Regions from separate parts of the Homo sapiens genome. Here regions 1, 2, 3, 4, 5 and 7 are each linked to region 6. The links are contacts of gene promoters, found by promoter capture Hi-C in blood cells and fetal thymus (Javierre and others, 2016). All regions are on one chromosome and are shown on one strand. Each heading gives the region's core, a stretch centred on a gene start or on the middle of the fragment in contact. The rest is flanking DNA. Distances are from core to core; before and after follow the strand shown.

The links. Contacts are between HindIII fragments. The CHiCAGO score rates a contact against its expected background, and 5 or more counts as called.
Region 1: a fragment that was not itself captured here is called in contact with the fragment with the promoter of XRCC5 in region 6 in 1 of 17 cell types (naive CD8 T cells); the score reaches 7.2 in naive CD8 T cells.
Region 2: a contact is called between a fragment that was not itself captured here and the fragment with the promoter of XRCC5 in region 6, in 1 of 17 cell types (neutrophils). The highest score is 5.2, in neutrophils.
Region 3: a contact is called between a fragment that was not itself captured here and the fragment with the promoter of XRCC5 in region 6, in 1 of 17 cell types (total B cells). The highest score is 7.8, in total B cells.
Region 4: a contact is called between a fragment that was not itself captured here and the fragment with the promoter of XRCC5 in region 6, in 1 of 17 cell types (fetal thymus). The highest score is 6.7, in fetal thymus.
Region 5: a contact is called between a fragment that was not itself captured here and the fragment with the promoter of XRCC5 in region 6, in 1 of 17 cell types (neutrophils). The highest score is 5.6, in neutrophils.
Region 7: a contact is called between a fragment that was not itself captured here and the fragment with the promoter of XRCC5 in region 6, in 1 of 17 cell types (neutrophils). The highest score is 5.2, in neutrophils.

Annotation. Positions count from the first base shown.
Region 1 is chr2:213,241,724-213,244,423 of GRCh38, reverse strand. No RefSeq gene overlaps it. Among named protein-coding and RNA genes, the nearest start is that of SPAG16-DT, 41 kb to the left of the region's middle. The HindIII fragment of the contact is 4,627 bases long and covers 1-2,700 here.
Region 2 is chr2:218,717,994-218,720,693 of GRCh38, reverse strand. The region is part of intron 1 of TTLL4 (tubulin tyrosine ligase like 4); the gene reads right to left. Among named protein-coding and RNA genes, the nearest start is that of TTLL4, 8.5 kb to the right of the region's middle. RefSeq lists a silencer at 831-1,128. The HindIII fragment of the contact is 161 bases long and covers 1,244-1,404 here.
Region 3 is chr2:213,220,043-213,222,872 of GRCh38, reverse strand. No RefSeq gene overlaps it. Among named protein-coding and RNA genes, the nearest start is that of LINC01953, 54 kb to the right of the region's middle. The HindIII fragment of the contact is 2,345 bases long and covers 393-2,737 here.
Region 4 is chr2:213,153,998-213,156,706 of GRCh38, reverse strand. LINC01953 (long intergenic non-protein coding RNA 1953) reads left to right here. Exons shown (of 4, transcript NR_146974.1): 4 at 777-891. Among named protein-coding and RNA genes, the nearest start is that of IKZF2, 3.7 kb to the right of the region's middle. The HindIII fragment of the contact is 3,234 bases long and covers 1-2,709 here.
Region 5 is chr2:218,668,228-218,671,053 of GRCh38, reverse strand. It overlaps RNF25 (ring finger protein 25), which reads left to right. Exons shown (of 10, transcript NM_022453.3): 2 at 2,375-2,449; 3 at 2,713-2,815. Among named protein-coding and RNA genes, the nearest start is that of RNF25, 2.4 kb to the left of the region's middle. The HindIII fragment of the contact is 499 bases long and covers 1,253-1,751 here.
Region 6 is chr2:216,107,977-216,110,718 of GRCh38, reverse strand. XRCC5 (X-ray repair cross complementing 5) reads right to left here and starts at 1,371. Exons shown (of 21, transcript NM_021141.4): 1 at 1,262-1,371. The coding sequence starts at 1,282. RefSeq lists an enhancer at 1,026-1,647. The HindIII fragment of the contact is 16,954 bases long and covers 1-2,742 here.
Region 7 is chr2:218,608,421-218,611,180 of GRCh38, reverse strand. The region is part of intron 1 of PLCD4 (phospholipase C delta 4); the gene reads right to left. Among named protein-coding and RNA genes, the nearest start is that of PLCD4, 1.9 kb to the right of the region's middle. The HindIII fragment of the contact is 2,876 bases long and covers 1-2,760 here.

The sequences.
Region 1 (2,700 bases), core at 40-2,539, 2.9 Mb after region 6:
CACACTCGTGTAACCAGATCAAGAAAAAGAACATTGTCAGGTTTGTAGAGTATTTAAAACAAGCTCAGTGCTTTGTATTCACACATTTATTTAAAATAATGTTGTAAAAGAACAGCATCATCCAGCCACAAAACTTAGGAAGAAATGTAATTTCAACTTAGAGAGCAGGCTCATAGTTCATTTTAATCAATTAAAAATTAAAATGTTTTAATATGATAAAACACATAATGGGGTGCTTTTAACTAAACATGCTTTATAAATACCTTGATAATTTTATAAGAAGAAAATTGAGAGAAGTAAAACAGATTTTGATAAGATTTCTAATATTTATTCATCATTTTAAAATGTGAAATTTGAACATTAAATAAAAATTTCCTAGTAATTTTGATAACTTTAAATGTATATTTCTATTCATGTTGATGTTAAAAAAAAAAAAAAAAGGTTCCCCAAACTTTACTCTCAAATCTGAATGTGCATTCTACCAGCCTGGAGGCTATTGTCAAAATGCAGATCTTGGTTTGATCTTTCTAGGTTGGGGCCCAGGAGTCTGCGTTTCTGACAAGTTCCCATCTGGTGCTGATGTTGCTAGTTCTTGTGCCACACTTTCAGTAGCAAGGGTGTAGACTTCAACTTGGATATATTTAATAGATATCATCACGTAATATTTTGTCGTCTTTCTAGCTCTTTCCCAGTCTCTGGACGTGCCATTTATTTTTGACCTTTTCTTTTCTTCCCTGTTTTTGGTTTGTAAAAAAAAGCAAAAAAACTCCTATTACTGTGAATTGTCTGACTTCATATTCTCAGTGGCGGAAATTCCCTCAAAAACCTCTCCCTTCCCCTTGCCTTGGCACATTCTCCTCCCACTCCCCACACCTGCAGCTTCCTGTAAGCACTTTGATTTTCAGAGGTTAGTTTCTACCTCCGTCTAAGGTTCACCTTAATTCTTCAGTGTGGTTCTGTGTAGTAAAATGAAACTGTAATATCAATGTCCTGGACCCATGAAGGCCAGAAAGCTCAATGATTCAACAGTTTAAAAAATCAATTCTGCTTAAAAACAAACAAAACCCAGAGATATCTAAGGCAGCTGGGCTGTAATACTACAGTTCATCAGCTGGTACCACTATCTGATAAATTTTGTACAATCCTGAAATATTACTGGTTTTTATGTTTTGATTAATGCAAAAAATTAGTTCCTTTATATCAATTCTGCAAGACTGAAGTGCAATAATTTCAAGAATGAAAACAACAGTTGGCGATTTCCAGTATGAAAAAAGGGTCTATGATGCTAACTTTAAAGGTTATAAGACAAAAACAGAACATAAAATTATAAATTTAATTATGACTGGATAAAGCATAAATAACTTTAGATAATGGTTGATTTTCAAATAATATAAGAATTTATCCCATATAGACTTTTAATTCAAAGACTTCGTAAATAAAGGCAATAAAAGATCAATAAAGTTTAAACCAAGACACAAAATCTCCAGAATTCTTTAATATCAACTTTGTATAATGAAAGAAAGAAAAAGAAAAACCTATCAGTAAGATGAATATATGAAATTATGTCTTATTCAGCAATTTGCTGGTAATGGAATTTTCTGACCTGAAAATCACATAATTATTAACCATCTATAATGAATCCATCTATATTCAACTCATTGAGATGTATAAATAATAATCAGAAAAATCAGTCAATTCTGAGCCTTTGCAAGACAAATGTATATATATTTTACAAGATAGGTCTATGAATTACTTCAATTTATCTGTTCCATAATCTGATCTAAATTTTTAATTCTCTTTGCAGTTATGAAACAGTAGTGACAAATGAACATATCAAAAACAATTAAATATATCTATCTGCATTTCTGATTCATTCAGATCATGTTCTAATGAGCCCTGGTGTGAGAATTGAAAACTTGGAATCTAATTTTGTCCCCAGCACTAATTAGCTTGTGATCTTGAACAGGTCAACTAAATTCTCTGACTTCTAGTATCTGATATTGGAACAGATCTTTGGTGCTAGACAGGAAGATTGTAAGAATCCCAGGAGTAAGCTCAGAATCAAGTCTCATTCTGACCTTAAACCCAGCTTCTAAAACTTAGCTTCTTGACACTTAAGACCAGATATTTTGTCCCCACTCCTGGTCGAGGATTCTGGTCTCTGCCTTTCTGCCCATACTTCTGCTTTGGTTCTCATCCAGGATTGTAGTTGCTCTAGGACTAAGATGCAGACTTATTCTTCTAACACTTGCTTAATACTTCAGATTTTCTTCTAAGCCCCAATGTCCATAGCTACCTTCTTCCCTTTGACTCTTACACTGCATAGATTTCTGGCTAATGTTTCTTGCCAAAACCCTCTTGATTCTGAGATTTGCCTATCTACCTGGTCTCCACTTGCTGCTGAATCTCTCCTCATCATACAGCCAGTGTTTTGTAGGGTCTCCACGTCCCGCCCTAGCCTTCGCGAACCATGCAGTTGTTGAAATAACATTGACTTCAAATATCAGGGTCTACGCATGGGATGATGGTCTGCGGGTATAAAACTGAAAATGTTGTTGCAACAAGGCAAACAGGTCAGATGGGGGGAAAAGTGATGAAGTGTTGCATCACTTCAATAGTATATTTTCTTGACCAAATATAGTTGTCATGAAAATTAGCAGATTCAGAGAAAAAATATAGCTTAGACAACTGCTTGCTAAT
Region 2 (2,700 bases), core at 75-2,574, 2.6 Mb before region 6:
TCTTTTTTTTTTTTTTTTTGAGACCGGAGTCTCACTGTGTTGCCCAGGCTGGAGTGCAATGGTACGATCTCGGCTCGCTGCAACCTCTGCCTCCCGCGTTCATGCAATTCTCCCGCCTCAGCCTCCCGAATAGCCGGGATTACAGGCACCCGCCATCGTGCCCGGATAATTTTTGTATTTTTGTAGAGACAGGGTTTCACCATGCTGACCAGGCTGGAGTATTTCTTATTATATCACAATATCACATCAGCAAAGCCACGAGTTGGACCTATTCATATGAAAAAGGCGTTCCCCTCTTACCACCATCTCCTTGTTGCTATTTTTTACTCAGTGCGTGCACTCTGCCACAGCTGTACCCAACCCCTTCAATAGTGTCTTTCCTCCTCCTGAGGCCAATCCAAAATCCTCCAGTTCTTTCATCCTCCCCCACATCAAATCAATCTCTCTCACAATGTCAACTATTATCTGCAGAAGAGTCATTTTGCAGATTTGTCGTCTCAAGTTTCATGTCTGCATCACCAACTGCCTGTTCCACCTTTCCAAATGCATGTCCAACCACTTCAATCTAGTGTGTCAAACTAGCTCTCCACTCCTGATCGTCCCATTTCCTTGAGTGGACCCTTCTTTCTCCAAATCACCTAAGAGGAAAACTAAGTTATTTCTGACTTTTTCCTTTACTTTATTTCCCCAAAGGGAAACCAGTCATGAAATTTAAGACACTCTGTCTACTTAGCATTCTTCCTCCTTTTATTATTTCCACCATGCCCCTAGATCTGGACTTACTGCAACAGCACTGACTGAAGCATGTGTCTCCAAGGTGTGCCCTTCCTAATTCCACCCTGCAGGCAACCTCCAGATTAATTTTGCTGTATTGCTTCATCAGGTCAATCCCTTTTCAAAAACGGTCCATGAGCACTTACTAAACACTGTGGTGGCCCACCTGCATCAGAATAACCTGAGATGCAAAGTCCTGAGATTCACCTTCAAGAGGATTCAGTTGGTGTGGAGTAGGGCCATGAGTCTGCAGTTTTAACAAGCATTCCAGATGACTGTCATGTGAGATTTCTTAGCTTTGGTCCACAAGACTCCATAGTCGACCCTTAATCTTTTTTTTTTTTTTTTTAAGGCTTATTTCCATTTCCTCCTACCTTGAACTCTGTTATGTGAACTGCGCTGGTCTTACACTAAATTCCTGGAATAAACCTTTCAAATGCCTGTCTGCAGGGCTTTACTCCACTAAGCTTCTTCCTTGTGAATCCTTACCATATTTTATTTACCTTTTCCAGACCCAGCTCAAGACCCACCCTCTCCACGAGCACCTGTTGTGTGTCCCTCTCACGTGATACTTTCCCAAGGCTATCTCACACCACTGTTCACTTACCCTAGTGATATGCCCTATAAGCTTCATGATGGCTTTTATAGGAAATCTCTGGGGATCTTTAACCTCAAATACAGAGCCACGCTGGCAGAAGGGGGTGGGAAGAACCCTGGTCCAGTTTGGCCTCCTATTAGCAATATTGCCCAAGTCTCCTCCCCCAACAACTTTATGGAACACTAAGTCTTCCTAGAACAAAAGTTTTTAAAAAATTGACTTAGAAACGATGGATATGTTCAATGTGAATTATACCTCCACAAAACTGTTAAAAATAAAAATAAAACTTGAATAAAGGGGTAAGAGTGAAGAATAAAAAACTGCAGAAAGTTGTATGGATCAACAAAATGGCCTGAAACATCCCCTTCTATTTGCATGGCTGCCTCAGCCCAGTCTCCAACCCCTCTAACACCAAGTGCAGGACTGTTAAGGTAAGCAGCCTGACTGATGTCCCTGGCTCCAGACTCTCCCCTTTAAAACACCCATTCTCAGGAATCTGAACATCCTACTTTGTCATCTTCATGCAGCATTTGGAAACTGCCTATACAGTTCTGTCCTCCAATCTTTATGGGGTGATTTTGCCTCAAGTTTCCTCCTTAAAGGAGTGTGAATGATTAGTAGCCTATGTTAGAAAATCTATTGCTGGCCGGGCGCAGTGGTTCATGCCTGAAATCCCAGTACTTTGGGAGGCCGAGGTGGGCAGATCACCTGAGGTCGAGAGTTCGAAACCAGCCTGAGCAACATGGAGAAACCCCATTTCTACTAAAAATACAAAACTAGCCAGGCATGGTGGTGCATGCCTGTAATCCCAGCTACTTGGGAGGTGGAGGCAGGAGAATCGCTTGAACCTGGGAGGCAGAGGTTGCGGTGAGCCGAGATTGCGCCATTGCACTCCAGCCTGGGCAACAAGAGTGAAACTGCGTCTCAAAAGAAAAAAAAAAAAGAAAAGAAAATCTATTGCTGCTGTCGCAAACCAACAAGTCTCCAGGGACCAGGCCCAGACCAACTTGGACAAGGTATCTATTTCTAGAGAAAGCAATTATTCATTACCCACTAATTAAATCACTCTCCTACAAGAGAGTGTGGCTCTTGGGAAATGCAGTTTCCCTTTCCTCCTTCAACTAGGTGTTTCCCTCGGTCACCAGGGAAACTCAGGACATCAGAAATGGTTCAGTCTACAGTCCACAAGATCTCTGATGAGATTACCTCAACTGCTCAACAGTTATGTTAGAAGATAGAACTGACAGGCTCACGCCTGTAATCCCAACACTTTGGGAGGCTGAGGCAGGTGGATCACGAGGTCAGGAGATCAAAACCATCCTGGTTAA
Region 3 (2,830 bases), core at 316-2,815, 2.9 Mb after region 6:
CTTTCCGAAGATTAAAAAACTAGAATAATTTTGCCACTGTATTTTACAATTTCCTTTCTCACATATAAAATAATTTTATTATTCTAAGAAAACCTGCTGAGTTAATATGGGAGACATTTCCACTACAAGTACTAAAAAATCAGTCACCCTTACAGTTCATAGAAAGAAAATCAAATTCTATTTTAGTGAAGTTTTCATAACAGCCTTTTGGTAATAATGTTGAAGAATCATGATATATTTAAGAGATATTAATTCTAGTAATAGTCATTTATCTTTGATGTCAGAGAGAGACAAAGGCTTGGGAAATAGAAGATTTACGATGACATATTATAGACTTACTTGGTAGATGTTGGATTTTTTACTCTTCCTCTGAAACGACAGATAATGAAGCTTTATCAACTTCCTTTTATTAAGGCTAAAAATATATCCTATAATAGGATCATAAACATTTGATGAAAATCACAGCTGTACTGAATTTTAAAATTAGGTGAGGATGGGCAAGTAGTTCATAGAAAAGTAAATCAGCATAACTCTCATACACTATGAGTTTACAACCCAGCTTGTTTTAATTTAATATATCTCTGGCTCTGACCTCTTTCCTGTAGTCCAGATATATATTGCCAATTTCCTGAATGAATCTGGATGTCCAAAATGAGTTGATTTTCCTCCCAAGCACATCTGAGACATGTCAGTGGAGAAAGCTCAAATTTAAGAAGATAGAACAGGATGACTGATCTTCCCTTTATTCTTCCCATTGCTTTCTGGGAAGAAGATTAAAATTCTTATTGTTATATCTCTGCCTTAAGTTGTATTCCCCAGAAACAGACTCTCGGAAGATGACTCATGTGAACACGATTAATAGAAAATTTTCCCAGGAAAATCAGGGGCATGGGGTGTGTAGCAAGGAAATAGGACTAGTAAGGTAAGAAGGCTAAGGAGGGGTATATTATAAAGCAAAGTTTCATGGAGGGTAACTTTGTCTCTGTCCCATAGAGGATATCTCTAAACAGTGTGGATCACACCTCAGACTTATCCTGATCAAGCCACAATGGCTGAAATATTTAAACCCCTGAACCTATCAGTGATTGGATAAGAACTACTCCTGGAAGGATATAAGTCCCCAAATACTTCTACCACAGTGGAAAAAAGTAGATTCCGGCAGTCAGGGGCCATCCCTGCAATAAAAAGACACAGTGCTGTCAATGTGAGAATAAAAACACACGTGGAGACAGAGAGCCTGGGAATGTAAAAAATTCAAGCAAGCTATGGCAGTGCACTGACTGTCTGCTTTAATCTACATACTGGTCACAATGTAATCTTATTTTCCTAATACCTACCCCTTTATCACTTTCCATTTATTTACTCATTATTTTCTTCTCCTTTATTCCTTCTATGTGCATCCTGCAGGTGGGGTGAGGTCCTGGGACATCAATGTCTAGCAGTAGAGTGCCACCATAGGTTGGCACCAAGGTTGCAATTCCTTCCTTCCTCTCTGTTCTACTGCTTAATAAAGTCAGGAGATATACATCGTTGGCCAGCTCAGTATTTTAAAAACTTGAATATGAATGCCTTCAGATGAGGTCTTTTTTTTCTAGTTCACCAGAATCTCCTAACACTATCAGTTAGGATTTGATTCAACTGCATGTAACAAAAAACCCAAAGTAACAGTCATTCTCAATGTAGGGTTCACGGACCAGTAGTATCAGCATCATGTGGCAGTCAACAGGTACTACAGTTCTTTTAAGTCATGAAGAACCCAGTCATCTCTCAGCTTCATGGCATAAGAACGCTGCTTTAGCAGCATCCATCACCTCCCCATTCCAAGCAGCAGGTGTGGAGGAAGATGCAGGGGAGAAGATGCAAGGGACTCATGCAAGATGTTTTTTGTTTGTTTGTTTGTTTTTAAAGAGGATAACACTTTCCAATTGGTTCATTGTGCAGAACCAATAGTGTGCTGGAAACATTTGACAAATAGGCCTCCAATCTTCATTGTGTAAATATACCTGCTATGGCTGATTTCAAGCTACCAACTCAACTTCACTGAACAGTGATGGAGAGAGATGTGCACAAGTGACTCTCCCAGCCAAGCCAGCTCCAGCAAATCACTGTCCATGACTAACATATAGCCATCCCTAAATACATGGCAAGTTTCAAAAAGAAGGCATTATTCCAAGGAGTTATGTGCTCAGAGTAAAATTTGAGTATACATTGTTAAAGTTGAAAGGAGGAATGGCTATTGTGCAGACATTGGCTCTTTCTGCTGCAAGATTGCTGTCCTATAGCCAACTTACATTTGTTTGTATCCATCCTTCTTGGACTCTGTAGAAATATATCTTTGTCTGAGATAGCGCCAAAATTCTAGTCAAATGGCTTTCAAAGACAAATACAGTTGAACCTCAAACAACATGGGTTTGAACCGTGCAGGTCCACTTATACACACATTTTTTTTCCAACCAAATTAGGATTGAAAATACAGTATATGCAGAATGCAAATCCCACACATAACCAAGCACTGCCTTTTCATATACTTGGGTTTAGCCTGCTGATTGCAGGACTTGAATATGCAGATTTTGGTATATGCAGGGGGTCCTAGAACCAATCCCTGTGTGTTCTGAGTAACGACTGTAACTGCTCACAGAAATTGCTAGGCAATATATTATAGATGCCAAAATAGCTCAAAATACATTGCATGTGATCACACATGAAAAGCAGCAAATATCTGTAGATAGATGAAGCTTATTCACTAACTAAAAGGTCATATTTTTGCAGTAGGAAAAAATAGAATATTAAATTGCCCATTTTGTGATGCTGTGATGATTCATGTGGTGTG
Region 4 (2,709 bases), core at 67-2,566, 3.0 Mb after region 6:
CTAAATTAATGCTCACCAGGCGTCTTCTCCTTTGTTACCCTCTTTTGGTAAGTTATTTCTTTACAAAGTTGAATCATATCTTTTTCATTTCTTGAATTAACACTTCATTGAGGATTCCAATAACTTCCCTGTACTTTTTGTGCTCTAAAATTTTAGGGTTTCTTCTCAATCCTTTTTAGAGTTGACTTTGAGCATCACCACTTGACCCAGTTCAAAATTCCCTTGTTTTTGCATTAATGGAACTCATTTTATCAAATGCTGAACAAATCTGCATTTTAAAAGCAATTATGGTGGGTTTTAATGACATCTTTAAAAATGTGTGCTTTCATTTTTTTCAGGAACCTCTCTGGTCCTCACCCCACTGGTTTAACTCCCGTAATTTATCATTCTCATTTGGGATAGAGTTAGCTTATCACCTGCTCTACAGCAAAACACTCTCTCTGGAAGAAATCTGATAGTATTCTATCAACGTGTGAATTTAAGTCATAATGTTACCTTTTTTAGGGACATGAGTATTTGCATAAGAGCCTTATCTCTAATTGCAAAGTGACACTCTTAAGACTGTTAAAAGAAACTATTGTTCAAGGTAGATGGAATTAGAAGACCCTCAGCATGTGGGACTTATATGCCAGCTGAATAGACCCCAGACTATCAGTGCACTCAGGGAAGTAAAGTTTGACAGTATTTATATGCTTTACTTATGAACTGGATTTGGTATCTTAGAATATTTTCTTTGAAAAGGTAGTTCCATTTTTGGCTTTCTTGCTTCTTCATAGTGCCAATCTAGGTCAACAGGAGTAAGTGAGACCATTGTTCCATATCCCGCTTAAAAAGAGAACACTACTTCAAAGACAAGAACAACATCACCTGACAAAAATAAAAGAAGTTATCGGTTTTAAAACATTGTGCTTATGTGTGCCTGTTATTCTTAACTTTTTCAGGGATTCAAGTTATTTTAGGGTACCTATTCTGGTTGATTATATATCTAGCACAATAAAGCCATTTAAATAAAAAAATATAGAATTCATTTCCAAAAATTTCTTCTTTGATTTTAGGAAAGAATTATAATTTTCCAAATTGTCCCCTCCCACCTTCTGCTAAAAAGACCCCCAAAACTTAAAAACGTACAATTAATTCCTTGAGCAAACAAAAGGGGATTTTACCCAAATTCCTTTAAAGGGTACTTAGGGCTTTTAAATCTAAAATAGATAAAACAAACTACCCAAAGAAAACAAAACCAATACTCCACAATGTACCTTTTAGCTATATTGCCTTGTAAAATTTTTCTTTTGCTGATTACACTTAGTGATTACAAAATTAAACCTGCTGCATTTCTTGATAGTCACCCTGGTTCATGAATTGTCAGGTGGTAACAGGAAATAATTCATTTTTGAAACAGAGGCATTACATAAATGTATTTTATTCCAAATTGCATTTTATATACAATGTTAGCCACTTTTCATATTTATATTTGCAAAATTAATATATAAATGTTAAAAATATATATTTATATATAATTTTATTTTTAATTTATGTAACATTTTATTTTATATACATTTTGTAAATATAACTGTTATCTACCAAGAGGTTCAGATCCTTTGTGTGGCTTGTAAGCCAGAGCTGACCTGTTAAAGATATTTGTAATATGACTTATGAGCCAAGATCTGACCAAATTCTTTATGAAATCAGCATGTATCTTGGAAATGGGACCCTTTTCGTCCTTTGAAAATAGAGTTTAATACATGAAAGCCAGCTGAGTACATCATTTCCTCCATATTCATTCATTTAATAAATGTTTATTGAGTACCAACTTGTACCAAATACTATTCTACTTCTGAGAAAACAATGTTATGAAGGAAATATTCAAGGTGCTACAATAGAAGTTGGTGCAGGAAAATGTTTGGGTAGGATGGGACAGAAAGGATGAGAAAGAACCAGCTACGTGAAAAATGGTAAGGGCTGAGGGGTCTGTTTCCTCCCCACCCTGCCACTTCTTCCCTAAAGTAAAAACTTAACTCTCCAAACTGGATACAGTGGCCAAAGAACATGGTACTCCACTTCCCTAGTGGTATATTTTAATGTACAGTATAGTTATATAAGTACCTTAAAAAAATGTGTACAGTCTATGTCTTCTGGCAAAGGACAGAAATAAATGCACCCTCTAACTATCAAAATACTACCCAGAGAGGCCAGGCGCAATTGCTCACGCCTGTAATCCCAGCACTTTGGGAGACCCAGCACTTTGGGAGATCACCTGAGGTCAGGAGTTCGAGGCCACCCTGGCCAGCATGGTGAAACCCTGTCTCTACTAAAAAATACAAAAATTAGCCAGGTGTGGTGGTGGGCGCCTGTGATCCCAGCTACTCAGAAGGCTGAGGCAGGAGAATCGCATGAACCCAGGAAGCAGAGATTGTAGTGAGCCGAGACGGCGCCACTGCACTCCAGCCTGGGTGACAGAGTGAGACTCTGTCTCAACAAAAACAAAACCAAAACGAACAAACAAACAAAACTACCCAGAGAAATTCTGAACAAAGTGAATTACAGTTTATGCAAGGGTTCTTTCCCATGAGTGGATTGCATTGTGAATCTTAGGACTATAGACTCCACAGGCATGAAATAAAACCCCCAATCTTGGTATGAAAACATAATCTTGATTTCTCTGGATGAGTTAGATACACCATAACCTGCAAATAAGAAAGGAATGTAGGA
Region 5 (2,826 bases), core at 253-2,752, 2.6 Mb before region 6:
CTACAGGTGTGTGCCACCATGCCTGGCTAATTTTTGTATTTTTTGTAGAGACGGAGTTTTGCCATGTTGGCCAGACTGGTCTTGAACCCCTGGGTTCAAGTGATCCTCCCACCTCAGCCTCCCAAGGTGCTGGAATTACAGGCGTGAGCCACCACACCCGGCCTCCTTTTCATTAATAACTGAGGTGCAGGCACCTGGGAAGACTAGATGAGTCCCAAAGAAGTAAAGTGATTTGCCAAAAGATAGAAAATTATGAATAGAAATCCATATCTGTCTGACTCCACACCTTAGATTCTTTGTACTAGGACATTCTTCAGTCCCCACTCCCCCAATTTTTTTTTTTTTTTTTTTTTTTTTTGAGACGGAGTCTTGCTCTGTCGCCCAGGCTGGAGTGCAGTGGCGCAATCTCGGTTCACTGCAAGCTCCGCCTCCCGGGTTCATGCCATTCTCCTGCCTCAGCCTCCCGAGTAGCTGGGACTACAGGCGCCCGCCACCACACCCAGCTAATTTTTTGTGATTTTTAGTAGAGACGGGGTTTCACCCTGTTAGCCAGGATGGTCTCTATCTCCTGACTTCATGATCCACCCGCCTCAGCCTCCCAAAGTGCTGGGATTACAGGCCTGAGCCACCGCGCCCGGCCCCCCTCCCCCATTTTGTTGTCACCACCTTACCACCATCCCATCCAGGACCCATATAACTAGGGTGGGCGAAGTATTGAAGGGCCACTTGACTGAGGCTACACCTCAATGTTACATTGGTTCAGGGAGCCCAGCTAGTACTGGCCGTTATTAAGAGTATCTAGACTACTGGTTTTCAAAGTGTTCAGGGAAACTTCTTTTTTTTTTTTTTTTTTAAGAGACAGAGTCTTACTTTGTCACCCAGGCTGGAGTACAGTGGCAAGATCATGGCTCACTACAGCCTCGACCTCCTGGGCTCCCGTGATTCTTCTGCCTCAGTCTCCCAAGTAGCTGGGACCACCGTGTCCAGTTAATTTTTTATTTTTTGTAGAGATAGTGTCTCGCTTTGTTGCCCAGGCTGGTCTCGAACTCCTGGCCTCAAGTGATCCTCCCACCTCAGCCTCCCAAAGCGCTGGGATAACTTACAGTTTACCTGTTCAGGGGAACTTTTAAGATTCAGGGGAGACACCTTGAGCCATGGAGACAGCAACAATGAGTGCAGCAGCCTGTAGTACTGTGAGACTCCCACTCCCATGTCAGCCAGAACTACACTGTTATCTGTGAGGTGTGAAGCTTTATATTTTATATTTTGAAGTTTCTGCCTAAGACTTAACAACACTGACATAGGTCGTGCTGGGGCAGCCTTACTCTTAGAATGAAGAGGGAGCAGTGTGAGAAAGCAAAGTGTGCATTTTTCCATGTATCACTTGGTAGAGCTGTAGACACAAACTGATCACTCAGCTTCAATTTCATTACAACTGCTGTTTCTATGCTTAAGTATGTGTGTCCCTTGATTTACATCAGAACCATGGATCCTAACCTCAACAGGCTGATCTAGATCAACCAGACAGCCAGGTCATAAATACATCCAGAGTACTCTATTACCTCCTTCCTTCCCTCTTTCCTTCTAAGGGAGAAGGTTATATACAGACAGGAAAAAAAGAGGACGTAGACTAGCTACGATAGCCCAGATACTATTAGGTACTTTATGTAAACAAATCACCTTTTATCCTCACAATAACCCTAGAGAGTAGGTGTTATTATCTATATGTGACAGACAGGATAACTTAAGCTTACAGAGAGGTCACGTCCCAGATTGCATAGCTTGTAAGTGATTGGTACCTGTTAACTAACTCCGAGGCTGCTGGCTCTTCCATTACAACACAGCCTTTATACCACCCTAAATATGTTGTGTTGAGGTTGCTATCTCCTTTAAGAAGGCTTAGGGTGACTGGTGTTAAAACTGTATGTAGACAGTAGCCAAGGCACTGGGATCCACACTGGACAGTGACGTAGGGAAAGGTTGGAGTAATATTGGTAACGTTAATGCTAATGAATGAGTGCCATATCTCTAGACCAGAGATTCAGCCACTAAGGGGAATGAAACTTAAACAGGGAGTCAGGAAACCTGGCTCTGGGCCTAGTTCTACCTATGTTAAGCCTTGGTTAGTCATTTTACTTCTCTAGAATCCACTTCTTCATCTGTTGGCAGAAATGATGCCTAAAATTCTGATTTCCATGCCTTCTATTTGGCCAGTTGACAACTTAAGGTAACATATTCCTTGTTTTTAAGGAGTTTAGCAGGAGAATGCATTCTGGTAGATTGCCATTTTTCTACAAAGCCTGCCTTTATTGGCCTTAGCAGGCTTCCACAGGGAGAGCTGTAATGGTAAGTTAGTCTACTCCTGTCTCTCTAGGGTCCTTCCCTCTGAAGTTGAAGTATTGGAGTCCATCTATCTAGATGAACTACAGGTGATTAAAGGAAATGGCAGGTATGTATTCAACCAGTGGTGGGCAGGAGTCCCCCTAGTAATGAGGAGAGGTTCTATGCTGAATTTGGGTCTTAAGACATTGTGAGCCTTGATTCAGAGATAATATTTCTCTTGTGTAGACAAAAGCTATTCCTTTAATCCTACCCCAAAAGAAAGAGTCCAATGTGTACTTCCTTTGCCCACTTCACTGTCTCAGCCCCATCCTCCCCAGCCCCCAAGCCCCTACCCAGTCACATCTGCGTGTCCACTTGATCCACCTGCAGAACTTCACCATGGGAGATCTACATCACTTTGCATCCTGCCACTGCAGAGGACCAGGATTCACAGTATGTCTGCTTCACTCTGGTGCTTCAGGTCCCAGCAGAGGTGAAGCCCCT
Region 6 (2,742 bases), core at 122-2,621:
GCACTTTTGTCATGAATTAGGTATCCAGTAAGTGCCATCAAAGGGTTTCAAATATGGAACTTATTGTCTGGAAGCAGAATGGTCTATATTTCTGAGTTCCTATCTGGCAGCAGTAAGAAAACTGAGAAAGAGAAACCGGGTAGCATAGCAACTCTTCATTTCTATACCGAAGCAATACAGGCTGTTAGAATTTTACTTCCAGTTCATCTGCAACAAACAGCTCCTCCACTAGAGCTACAAAGTTTTCAGCAGCTGAAAGAGGACGAAAAAAGGAGGTGAGTGGCATTATTAAAAGTTCATGATCGTTTTAATCAACATTTCTCAATGAGGAGTTGAGGGAACTAGGGATCAGTTGCTCAAACTCGTATCTTGTTTATCTGTATTGAATAAATTCATTAATCCCTGGAACCACATCTCCCTCTAGTGACCCTTCAGAGACAACTACCACTCTTTTATGTTGAAAAAAAAAAATCACTTTAAAATTCATTGTAATTTCTGTTACTGATCTGGGACACCAATGGTCATAGATTTCTAGCAACACAGGGGTTCTCCAGGGCCCTGAAACCAGACAGCTTGGATTCAAATCCGGATTTCACCAGGAAAAGCCCACAGTTCTTTATTCCTCGGTTTTCCCACTTGCAAAATGGGGATAAATAGTTTTCACTTCAAGGGGTTGTGAAGATTAAATGAGATAAGAATAAAAGGTTTAGATCCGTCCCTCACAGAGTGGGCTTTCAATAAATGCGGGATACTACGTTATTATAAAGCTAATAATACGACGCTTTACAGTTTAAGTTATTTTAGTCACAGATAGTCCCTCTCTTAAGTTTTACAACAAGCCCTGTGGGATAGTTGCTTTATCACAGCTAATTTTCATTCTCATAGAGATCTTAAGAACCCAGGCTCGGAAGTAATAGAGGAAGTGGGGCTAGGGAGTGGAATGGGATAAAGAGAGAGAGAGGGGAGGCGGGTGGGGAGGCAGGTGAGACAAAGAGCAGGTAGAGAGGGAGAAGAGGGATGGGATGGGTGGGTAATGGAAGAGGTGGAGTCAGCGAGGCTCAAATTCAGGTCTTGGAGCCCCAAATCTCCAGCTTTTCTCATAGCGCATCCCTCGGTCCCGGCCCTCCTGACTGAGCCCACCACCATGATCTTCTCTTGCCCCATTCTTTGTCTTGACCGCGATCCCACGATTCCTGCTTCCGAACCACCCTCTCCGGATCCCCAGTCCGGGTAAAGCCCAAGTCCATGGCTTTCTTTATACCTTATTCCCCGACCGCACCATGTTGCCGGTCCTCAGGCGCTTTGGTCGCTTCTTCCGGGCGGGAACCTGCCGTGTCGCAACTCGCTTCCGGTGGACAAGCGGCAGATAGCGGAAAGAGCCGCTTCGTTTCCTGCTAGGCCTGAAAGGGGCGGGGAAACCGTGCCCCGGAACTCTGAGCATGCGCAGATTCCCGCCGAGCTTGCGCAGATTCCCGCCGAGCTCGCGCAGATTCCGGCCGAGCATGCGCAGATTCTCTCCGAGCATGCGCAGATTCCCGCCGAGCATGCGCAGATTCCCGCCGAGCATGCGCACATTCTCTCCATTCCGCCGTAGTCGGGAGCGTGTGGTGTTTGAGCCGCCTGAAACGCTAGTACGACAGATTTACTTAAAGATTCACTTAATCACTTAAAGATTCACGTCCCTTTTCTCTCATTGAGAATAACACCTAAGGCATTTTGTGTCAGAGCTCTGGAGTTAGATTTCTTTTCTTTTTTTTACTTTTTTAAAAAATCTTTTTTCCTTTAATTTCATTTTTTCATTTATTTTTTATAACTTTTGATTTTTTTTTTTCTCATCACTTGTGGGTTTTTTTCTACTTTTTATTTTTGGTTATTGTGGAGTTAGATTTTCTTGAGTATGAGTATGAATGCAGAAAGTCACTTAACTTCTCTAAAAGACTCAGTTTCTTCTAAAAAGTGATAATGAAACACTTCACCGATGTGATAACCTTAGAGCCAACTGGGGAAGAAGAGTAGGACGTCCCCAGGAGCACAAAAGTAGAAGGGAGATTCTACTCTGCAGAGAAAATGGGATGCACAAACGCCTGGAGGCATGAGACTTTATCTGCTAAGGCTCTCCCAGTAGTTAGCAGTGGCTCCAGCTTGGAAGGGAGGAGTCAAGGTTTAATTTAGAAGACAAGTCTAGGGAGATATAGAAATAGCAGCTGTCATCACAGTGCTTTACTTGATCACGAGCCCTTTGTCCAGCCCGCATCCCCTACCCCTTTGAGGGAGGCAGGCCCAAGCAGTACCTTGCATAGAAATGACTGCTTTCTATACCATATGACCCCCAGCTGACAGGTGGCTGGACGAAGGGTCTGGCAACCTGCAAAGTGTCTGCAAACCTCTGCCCAAACTGAGAAAATCAAGTCCAATCAATATTCTCTCCTGCTTGAAAATTGTTTCTGGGAAAAGCAAGAATTGAAGCTGAAAAGATGTGGAGAATCTATGAGCCAAAATTATAAATACATTGAAGCCTCTAGAATGTAGAGTCAGACATATTCAGAGGTGCTCATAGAGCCCAGGAGGTTCTTCCAGCTTTTGATTCAAACTCAAGGAGTTACTTAAAAGCTGAAATATTATTTTTAATAATACTTTAAAGGAACAGCAGCGCCCTGGCCGCTCAGCTTTGCGCGGGCTGCAGCAGGCAGGCAGGCAGGCACGGACACTCGCCCTTCCCTGCGGGTAAGATTTCCAAGAGAA
Region 7 (2,760 bases), core at 104-2,603, 2.5 Mb before region 6:
GCCAGTTTCAAATCAGGGAGCCATAGAAGGTCAGAGCTGGACTTCATTTTATAGAAAAGGAGCCCGAGGACTAGAAAGGTTAGGTGAAGTAAAAAGAATTAGTGCCAGAGTCATTTAATGAGTGACAGAACTGGAATTAGAACCAAGGTCTCTGGCCGGGCACGGTAGCTCACATCTGTAATCCCAGCACTTTGGGGGGCTGAGATGGGCAGATCATGTAAGGCCAGGAGTTCGAGACCAGCCTGACCGACATGGTGAAACCCCTTCTCTACTAAAAATACAAAAATTAGCTGGGAGTAGTGGTGCACACCTATAATCTCCGCTACTTGGGAGGCTGAGGCAGGAGAATTGCTTGAACCCAGGAGGCGGAGGCTGCAGTGAGCCGAGATGGCGCCATTGCACTGCAGCCTGGGCAACAAAAGCAAAACTCTGTCTTGGGCAGGAGGAAAAAAAAAAGAACCCAGGTCTCCATACAACCAGCTCAAGGATCTCACAATGACTCTGCTCTTGGAAAGGGCCTTCTCTAGAAAACAGTTGAAGCAAGGCTAGGAATCAATAAGGGACATTGGTATTTTGTCTCTCCTCTCCATCACTTTCTGTTCCCTCTGTACTCTGAATAGTCTTGCTTTTCTTTGGTCTCATTTTCTTTATTTCTATTTATTTATTTTTTTTTGAGACGGAGTGTCACTCTGTCGCCCAGGCTGGAGTGCAGTGGCATGATGTTGGCTCACTGCAACCTCCGCCTCCTGGGTTCAAGTGATTCTCCTGCCTCAGCCTCCCAAGTAGCTGGGATTACAGGTGTGTGCCACCACGCCTGGCTAATTTTTTTTATTTTTAGTAGAGACGGGGTTTCACTATGTTGGCCAGGCTGGTCTCAAACTCCTGACCTCAGATGATCCACCCGCCTCAGCCTCCCTAAGTGCTGGGGTTACAGGGGTGAGCCACCATGCCCAGCCTCTTTCATCTCATTTTCTTTCCTTTCCCTATCCCATGCCTGACCTGGTCCTTTTCCTTTCTTCCCAGTTCACTATAAAAAAAATTTTTTTTAAATTATTATTTGTTTTGTATGGAGATGGGGTCTCCCTGTGTAGCCCTAGTTTTAAACTCCTGGCCTCAAGCAATCCTCCTGCCTGGGCTTCCCAAAGTGCTGGGATTACAGGCGTGAGCCATCATGCCCAGCCCCATCCCCACCTCTCTCTCTCTCTTAATCCTCTGTCTTCCTGTTTGCTCACCTAGGTCAGTCTCTCCTCTTCTCTTCCTTCTCCTCATCCCTTCTCCCCATCACCTCTTCCAGTTGGTTCCCTCTTTTGACTCCACTAATTCGCAATGGCTCTGAGTCTCATCTCCTTTGAGAATTTTGAGACTGTGGTCCAGAAGGGAGGACACTTGGGTTCAGAACTCAGTAGCATGCGTGTCCCTCTGCTCAGCCTCACTTTTCTCTGTATCCTAGGAGATTGACCAAACAAACTGCCCAGACAATGTGAGTTAGAACCTAGGTATTCTAGGTCTTGCTGTTTCCTCTGGTGTCTAATGGTAGAATGGGAAGGATGCCCACAGCTGATGCAGGTGCAATGAGAAGAGAAGGAACAAAGGGTTTGGGAGTGAGGGCACTGGGAAAAACACAGAGGATGACATCTGATAATAAGAAAGGTTGGTCTTAAATATTAACTCATAGACACATATATGGAGATCTTCAATGATATGGTAATTACCTCTCTAATACAGATACGAAAATAGGGACACAAAATGAGATGGGAAGTAGCCCAGAGCTGCAGAGCGCAATTTGGTCCTCAATTTCTAAGAGACTTCATGTCACCTAGAGATGGACTTTGGCAGAGTTACCAATGGCACCAAGGAGATTACAGTGGGATTCAGGGTGTCTCAGGTCTCTCTGAGGGGCAAGAAAGAAGAGAATCATTTTGTCTACTCCCTTGCTTCTGAGAAGGATTATGCCTAACCTGGTTCATATAGAGGACAAATTGGCTCTGGTCACAGGTCACAGAATGTTGGAGCTTGAAGGTTCTTTTTTTTTTTTTTTTTGAGACAGAGTCTCGCTGTCGCCCAGGCTGGAGTGCAGTGGTGCGATCTTGGCTCACTGCAGGCTCCGCCCCCCGGGGTTCACGCTATTCTCCTGCCTCAGCCTCCCGAGTAGCTGGGACTACAGGCACCCGCCACCCACCTCGCCCGGCTAATTTTTTGTATTTTCAGTAGAGACGGGGTTTCACCATGTTAGCCAGGATGGTCTCAATCTCCTGACCTCGTGATCCACCCGCCTCGGCCTCCCAAAGTGCTGGGATTACAGGTGTGAGCCACCGCGCCCGGCCAGTTCTTTTATAACACATCTAATCCAGACATTCCCAGCTACATCAATAGCCTCTGGAATGTCTTGAAATTGAGATCCTTAGCCCTACCCAAAAATCTACCAGATCAGAGTTACCCAGGGTGGGGCTCAATAATATATTTATTTTTAACAAGTACACTTGGTACACAGGCAAGTCTGGGAAACCCTAAACTCTCTCGTATCACAGATCTGGAAGTTGTGGCTCCAGGTCCCGTAGCTAGTTAATGGCACAGGCAGAACTAGAAGTAGGTTTTCTTACCAACGTAGCACTCTGGTGCACTAAGAAACTGCTCTGGCCCATGGAATAGGCAAAGAACAAGTTCTTTAGAGAACTTTCTAAGGGACTTTCATAACTCTCTCTATTACCAGGGATCTCTGATTCCCCATGGTTCTTGGCCAACCCCTATTTTGCAACCCTC